2 separate regions of the Homo sapiens genome follow, and region 2 is linked to region 1. Evidence: promoter capture Hi-C in 16 types of primary human blood cells and fetal thymus (Javierre and others, 2016). All regions are on one chromosome and are shown on one strand. Each heading gives the region's core, a stretch centred on a gene start or on the middle of the fragment in contact. The rest is flanking DNA. Distances are from core to core; before and after follow the strand shown. Region 1 holds the start of MAT2B (methionine adenosyltransferase 2 non-catalytic beta subunit). Region 2 has its middle 18 kb from the start of MIR146A.

Evidence for each region. Contacts are between HindIII fragments. The CHiCAGO score rates a contact against its expected background, and 5 or more counts as called.
Region 2: a fragment that was not itself captured here is called in contact with the fragment with the promoter of MAT2B in region 1 in 5 of 17 cell types (non-activated CD4 T cells, naive CD8 T cells, total CD8 T cells and 2 more); the score reaches 15.2 in non-activated CD4 T cells.

What each region holds. Positions count from the first base shown.
Region 1 is chr5:163,503,157-163,507,327 of GRCh38, reverse strand. It overlaps MAT2B (methionine adenosyltransferase 2 non-catalytic beta subunit), which reads right to left and starts at 1,709. Exons shown (of 7, transcript NM_013283.5): 1 at 1,579-1,709. The coding sequence starts at 1,641. RefSeq lists a silencer at 1,393-1,532 and enhancers at 1,703-1,822, 1,863-1,952, 1,170-1,976, 3,592-4,171. The HindIII fragment of the contact is 7,455 bases long and covers 546-4,171 here.
Region 2 is chr5:160,501,025-160,505,266 of GRCh38, reverse strand. No RefSeq gene overlaps it. Among named protein-coding and RNA genes, the nearest start is that of MIR146A, 18 kb to the right of the region's middle. RefSeq lists an enhancer at 1-409. The HindIII fragment of the contact is 5,828 bases long and covers 1-4,242 here.

The sequences.
Region 1 (4,171 bases), core at 460-2,959:
AATGGGAGATACATGGCTCCTTCCAAATGGTCCAACACAGTACTCTGGGACAGTGATTTCTACTTTAGCACACCTGCATTAATGTCTACTAAAAATGTTCTAGAAAAGTAAAGAATGGAATACTATTAGTATGTGGTTTTCCCAAATTTCAGTGGTAAATACCTTGTCGTTTTTGGAAACTTTAAAACTTGGCACAGTTCCATGTTTAATTTTTTAATTCCCCAGAAACAGACCCTTAAGGTAAACATTACTGGGCTTTACTTTTTAAGATTCTCTGACTACTTAGGTGGGATTGGTCTAACTTCTACTGCGACGCTACTGTGCTCCACAGACAGTATTACTAACAACAACCACTCCAGGATGCTTCTCTAACGTTAACTATGAGACAGTTCTCGTTCTCATGAGTCAGTAAGCTTTAATTCTACAGGTTTTGAGAGCAGTAAGTCTGTGCCAAGCTCTTCGTTGTTTCATTTTTAATGAAGGAAAACACGAAAAGCTATTTTCATTTTTATACTGAACTTCTTTTTGTGAAAGTAGATTAAGCTTTATATGCACACGTACACATACAAATGCATACATATAAATGTAAACGTATGTAACATGCACTCAGCACGGTCTGGAGGACCTAGGAACATAGAGGTTTAATAGACCATTTATCCTAACTTTACCCTCAAAGAACCAAAGTGATTTGAAAACCCTAAGTAAATTTGGAAGCATGAAAACTTTGCAATAACAGAAACAGCCATCTCCTATATTCTCTACTCTCTCCAAAAGACATGGTCTGGGCATTAGTAGTGTTCTTATCCCCAGGGTTGGATATGTTCTGTGGACAGATTAATGCTGGAGGCCCTTAAGTGGAATGGAGCAGGATGGGACGGGGGCGAGGGGGGCACCAGAGATGGATCTTCCAATCATCACCATAATCTTCCTTCAGGGAAACTCCGTAGTGGTTCAAAGCCCAAGACAGTCACACAAACCTGTATCTGAATTCCAGGCTCCAACCTTACGGAATGAACCTGGGCCAATGTCTCACCCTCTATGCCCGTTTTCTCGTCTACAAAATGAGGCAATAACAAGTATCTCACAGTGGAGGATTAAAGTAATGCCCGTCAAGTGCATAACATAGTGCTGAGAACTTAAGAGTTCAATAAGTTGTCATCTCCAGCACTGTTATTTGTGAGAAGTCACCTTTTCCTGTTCTTTCTCAAACCTACGAACTTGTAAGATCGAGAAATACGAACCAAAGATGAATAAACGGGGAAAACCAAAATCAAAACAAACAATTCTGAAAAACCTCTTCGTCCTCAGGAGCAGAGACAGAACTCGAAAGTAAAACCTCCACCTACTTGCTTCCTGCCGCAGTGGCTGGAAGAAAAAAACACTGACCCGTGTGCGCTGAGATAAACAAACTCGGTGGCGCCCCCCTCGGATCCGGGGCTGGGAGGGTGGCGGTGAGACCACTCCCGGCCGGAGGCTCTGACCCGGGCGGAATACGCCTGCAAAGCCGCCCGAGCCCCGGTGGCTCGTCCCCCTCGGCGCCCCCGCTCCCACCGGAGACGCCCAGGCCGACTCCCTCACCTCCACCAGCCGACAGCTCCCGGGAACAAAGTGTATAGAGAGCTCTTTCTCCCGCCCCACCATGCCCGCCGTCTTCACGCCGCAGCCTCAGCGGCCGCCACCTCCTCCAACCCAGGATCGACGCGGGCCTCAGCTCAGACGCCCTCGGCCCGCCTCCCCTAGGCCCAGAACGACCCCGCTCGCCGCTTCCGGCTTCCGCTGCCATAGCCGCGCCCGTTGATTGGCCACGCTCCGCCGACGCCCCAGAAAGAGGGCGGGTACGCGCGGTCTGCCCCCAGCCCACGCGCCGATGCTTAAAGCGACACACAAAAGAAAGGCCCTGACCTTAGGCAGTGAATTCAGGTTTTGTTTCGGAGATTTTATTTGAGTGCTTTTTATTCTACTTTTTTTCCTTTTTTTCTTGACTCGGGAAAAGATTGAAGTGGATCGCCTTGAGTTTCAAGTTTGCAGACTGCGCAGTGCATGAGGATCGACTGAGCAATATAAAAAGTGGAATAAAAAGCATTTTAAAGTCATGGGGGCGGGGGCGGAGGTGGGTAGAGCATAATGGACACATCTCTAGAGCTCTAGGTGGGGGTTTTGAAAGATTTAGAAAAAGACAAGGAATAAAAATAAAAGGGTTGGCGTCTGAGCCATTTGTCTTCCTGGGATGCTTAAAAAAAGAAAAAACCTGTGTGTGAGATATCAAAAATGTAAAACTATTTTTAACTAATTAAAAATAAAAAGTTGTAGGGGGAAGGAAGATGAACTACTTAGGTACCTCTTCAAAACGCAGATCCTTGGACTTTACCCATAATTACAGAACAAGAAACGAGCCCGGGGTCCGACTTCTTAATGGGTTTAACCAGAATCAAGCCCACTCTTTAAGAAACACCGCCTCGGGGATTGCAGGATTGGGCCACACGAGCCCAGCCTTGGTGAGCACCGAGAATTTAAGCAGCAGCGTGTAAGGCTGGGCGTTCTACCACCTTTTAAAAGTTAAGCAGCCCTAAGTGCTGATGCCGACTTATTTCCCTTCCAGTTAAAAACCGCAAAAAATCCTCAGCCAGGCTGGACGCCTGTGAAATTGATGCAGAAAGTAAACCCTGGCACAGGCCGTGTAGGATTTGCCAACTTTGCACCGAACAGTCCAAGGGTTCTTGTGTGCCCAGGATAGCAAGCTCTAAACGTCGTCCACAAACGTGACCACTGTCTGGATTTTCCTAGGGCCTTTCCCCGACTCCTAAACCTTTTTGGTTTATTTTCAAACTAAAGACTAAGCAGCCTTTTAAAGAAGTTTTCCACGTCAGAACACCATGACTTTCCTTCCTCCTCAACCCCCAACAAAAACTCATTTCCTTATTCGTGTAAACATAAAGTTTCTCTAGAACAGTAATCGAAGACAGCCTGAGGTTTCTTATGTTCCGATTTTTTTTTTTTTTAAACACAGGCTATTACTGTTCATTAGTTTGGCTTTATTTAGGGAATCCTTGAGGACTGCCCCAGCGCTAAACAAGCATAATCAGGGGACAACAAAGAAGAGGGCGGGAAGAGGGCCGGGGGAGCAGCCAAGATCATCTTACTACTTTTTCTCTTAACTGGGAATTCGGTTTAAAGTTTCTAGTCGCAACACGTGATGTAATCTTACCTTTCTATGGGAGAAAAGAAAATTAATTCTTCATTCTTCAACGTGAAGCAGGTTTAAGGGCAAGCATATGCAATTAGCATTCTGATTCTCAGAGCAGCCTAGTCTTGAGGAACAGAAAGAATTTAACTTGGCTGCTTTTGAAAATCTGACTTGATACTTTCCCCGTAAAAGTTGGGTACAGTTCTAGGGGCATATGTTTGGATATGGTTTTTAATCATTTTCTTTAATGATGGTAGGGTCTATGCGAATCAAACGCCATTCTTAACATAGACAATATACAACTTCGTGTGGTGGCTAAGTCTATACATTTAAAGAGAGCAGCCTGAAACTAAAAGTTATGTTAGCAGATTCAATTCATACAAAGACAAAGAACATCTGGAAAGGAACACACTACAGATAAAATCCTTATTTATGTAGAAACTTTATATACATAATTGCATTTAAAATGGTAAATGAAAGTGCAATTCTGTATTGTCAGCTAGTGAGACTTAGCTGAGCCCTTCATAACCTGGTTCTCCGGGTCAGTAACTAAAGTTGGCTTATTCTTCCATGTCCCGAGGTTATGTTTTAAGGAAATGAATGACACCCGTTTCTATTTTCTTTACACAACAATTCTGGTTTTAGCAGGCGTTCACTGGAATGCTTTTAAAGCATCTCTTACTCTAGAATGCTTCATTTCTTGAATTGCTAGTTCTTACCTGCTCCATGTCCTCTGGCATTTCAGGCATGACTCCAGAATTATTTCAGGAGAGCAGATACGGGATGGGTCTTAGCCTCTGCCTTCTCTTGCTGGGTCTTTGTTCGCTTCTGCCTGCAGAGAGCGCAGGCACGCCAAAACGTGAGGAGCAGCTTCACTTGACCTTTTAAATTAGCATTTTGATTCCAATCCCGGAATCTCGTGCAGTTCTCCACATGGCAGTAAGCTGGTAGCTGATTCCCCGTAGTAGTCTCGAAAATACCCAATGA
Region 2 (4,242 bases), core at 1,256-3,755, 3.0 Mb after region 1:
AAAGGGTCTAAGAAAGCAGGGAAACAGCACTGGACTGGGCCTGCCATACATACCCCACACACACATACACACACATATACCCCACACACCCATACATACCCCACACACACACCCCACACACACACATCCCACACAAGTACACCATACACACACATGCATGCACACACACCCCTCACACCCCACACACACCCCACACACACATAAACCACACACACACCACATGCACACATACACATACACCCCTCACGCACACCACACACACACACCCCTCACACCTCATACACAAATACACCACACACACCCCACGTACACCCCTCACACCCCACACATACAGACACCACACACACACTGACACCACACACATACACACACCCCTCACACACATACACCACACACACACCCATCACACCCCACACATACATACACCACACACACATACACCTAACACACACACCCTTCACACCCCACACACAGACATACACCACACCCACCCCTCACACCCCACACACACCACACACACAAATACACATGTCTCACACACACACCCCACATACCACACACATACACACACCCCTCACACACACATACACCCCTCACACCTCACACACACATACGCACACCGCACACGCACACCTCTCACACCCCACACACACACACAGACTCCACACACATACACACACACCCCACACACCCCTTACACCCCACATACACATACACCACACACATACCTTACACCCTACACACACGTACACCATACACACACATGTGCACATACACACACCTCACACCCCACACACACACCCTCACACCCCACACACACACCCTCACACCCCACACACACATACACACACAGGCTCCACACACACACCCACACACACACAACCCTTACACCCCACACACATACACCACACACACACACCTTACACCCCACACACATACACCATACACACACATGCGCACAGACACACCCCTCACACCCCAAACACATATACACCACACACACACACCTGGATCAGGGACAGGAGCAGGAAGGGGCCTTTTGTAGAAACAGTCCCCTGGGATACACACACACACACACACACACACACACACCCACACTAGGCTTGTGTATGCATGAAACAGCTCCTGAAAGATGCACAGGATCTGTCAACAGGAAGGGACCAAAGAACTGGAGATGAGGGGGATAGGAAGGAGGTTTATTTTTCACTGCACACCTTCTTGCAGAATTTTACTTATGTGCTTATATTGCCTTTTCAAAAAATAAATTCTGTCCCCCTTTCTAGAACACACGTACAGAACCTGTCCCTTGTCCGGTCCACGTGAAGTTAGGAAAACTAAGTCCTAGTTTTATCCTGCCAGCAATAGTGAAGCAGTATGATGTCATAATGAGTCTTAAATATCCTTTGCTTCAGTTTCTGAGGCTGTAAAATGGGGTTAATAATATCTATTCTACCCTCCTTAGAGGCACTTTAGAAGTTCATTGAGATAAAACAACAATAGCAATGATAATAGTTTAAATATATTGAGTGCTTAACATGTACTGGGCACAGTGCTATTGTCTCAATCCGAAAACAATCCACTAAGGTAGCAACTAATGTGAGTCTCATCTTAAGAGACAAGGAAAATAAGGCAGAGAAAAGCAACTTGCTCAAGGTCATGCAACTATATATCATAAACTAAAAGTAAAATTCAAAGCCCCCCCCTTCCCCACCAACTGACTGAATGGACCATCTCTTGGCCAAGGGGATCCCAGAGTAAACTTGAAGACTGAGTTCTCAGCCATGACAGGATAGGAGACTCAGATACACATCATTATACCCCCTCCCTCATTAACCATCATTAGCCTTTCTTCCCTAAGGGCTTAACAGAAAGTAGCCCTTTCAGACTTCATGACCAAGGACCCAAAAGCAAATGCAACAAAAACAAAAATAAATAGATAGGACTTAATTAATCTAAAGAGCTTCTGCAAAGCAAAAGAAATAATCAGCAGAGCTAACAGACAACCCACAGAGTGCGAGAAAATCTTCGCAATCTATACATCTTACAAAGGACTAATAGCCAGAATCTACAAAGAACTCTGATATGGTTTGGCTGTATACCCACCCAAATCTCAACTTGAATTGTATCTCCCAGAATTCCCCCGCGTTGTGGGAGCGACCCAGGGAAAGGTAATTGAATCATGGGAGCCAGTCTTTCCCATGCTATTCTCATGATAGTGAATAAGTCTCATGAGATCTGATGGGTTTATCAGGGGTTTCCACTTTTGCTTCTTCCTCATTTTTCTCTTGCTGCCACCATGTAAGAAGTGCCTTTCACCTCCTGCCATGATTCTGATGCCTCCCCAGCCATGTGGAACTTTAAGATCAATTAAACCTCTTTCCTCCCAGTCTCAGGTATGTCTTTATCAGCAGCGTGAAAACAGACTGATACAAACTCAAACAAATTAACAAGAAAAAAACAAACAATCCCATTAAAAAGTGGGCTAAGGACATGAATAGACAATTCTCAAAAAAAGATATACAAATGGCCAAGAAGCATATGGAAAAATGCTCAACATCACTAATGATCAGGGCAATGTAAATCAAAACCACAGTGAGATACCACCTCACTCTTGCAAGAATGGCCATAATCAAAAAATCAGAAAAATAATAGATGTTAGTGTGGATGCGGTGAAAAGGGAACATTTTTACACTGTTGGTGGGAATGTAAACTATGTACAACCACTATGGAAAATAGTGTGGAGATTCCTTAAAGAACCAAAAGTAGATCTACCTTCTGATCCAGCAATCTCACTACTGGGTATCTACCCAGAGGAAAAGAAGTCATTATATGAAAAAGATACTCGCACACACATGTTTATAGCAGCACAATTTGCAATTGCAAAAATATGGAACCAGCCCAAATGCCCATCAACAAACAAGAAATGGACAAAGAAAATATGGTGTGTGTGTGTATATATATATATACACACACACTCAAACAGCCACACACACACACACCATGGAATACAACTCAGCCATAAAAGGGAATGAAATAATGGCACTTGCAGCAACCTGGATGAAGTGAAGTAACTCAGGAATGGAAAACCAAACATTGTCGTTCCCACTCATATATGGGAGCTAAGCTATGAGAACAACAAAAGGCATAAGAATGATACATTGGACTTTGGGGACTCGGGGAAAGGGTGGGGTGGCGAGGGATAAAAGACTACACATTGGGTACAGGGTACACTGCTTGGTGATGGGTGCACCAAAATCTGACAAATCACCACTAAAGAACTCATTCACGTAACCAAACACCACCTGTTCCCCAAAAACCTATTGAAAATAAAAAAATAAATTTAAAAATATTTTAAAAAGAAAACAGCCCTTTCAAAAGACTCCACCACTGGTATCAGTCTACCGCCTAATGCTGCCTCTCCTTTTTTGCCCGATAAGAGACCACCGACCACAGGGTGGTTCTGGCCAATCTACAAAGAATGCACAGTAAGGGTGTTCCTGTCTACTTCACCTTTTGATGTCAAAGGGCCAAAAACTCCACCCTTAGATCATGCTAACACCGTCATTTTTTGTACATGGGACACAAGCAGGGGGATGAAGCTCAATTGCACGTGTGCATATTTCTCCTTCATAAATATTCATGATTCCTCTGATAGCTTATTGAATATGTATATTCGACCACTCTGCTCAGCATAAATTTCTATTCCATTTGCCCCACCCTCAGAGTATCTGTTTTGGGCTTCTGACCAGAGGCTATGCTTCCCACCCTGTCAGAATGGCAACCCTGCAGGCTGCAATCCTTTATGAGAAATAAAGCTCTCCTTTCCAAATTTATGAACCTCCTCATTCTTCAGTTGATGATATCCAGCCTTCTGTTTCTACCGCTCACACTTTTACCCACCGAATGCAATATATAGGTTTGAAATTAGTATTCATTACTCTAGATGCAGCTTCCTGTCCTGAGATGTTTGGGTTGATCATCAGATTTCCTCCACCTGTTTCCCCATATTGGAATTTCTACCCTACTCAAGAGAGTCTAATGAGGAGCTAGAATCTAGAGATAGGAATATAAGCAATTTCAAAATAGGATCCTGGTCCCAGGAGTTAGGATTTGTTGCATGGCAGAGACCAGGATCCTGGAATCACCTTTAACTCAAGAAAGTGCTCAGAAACAAGCCCCAGCTGAGGTTTATAAACACAATTAGCTTGTTACCACCCCCACCCCCACTGTTACCATAGCAAT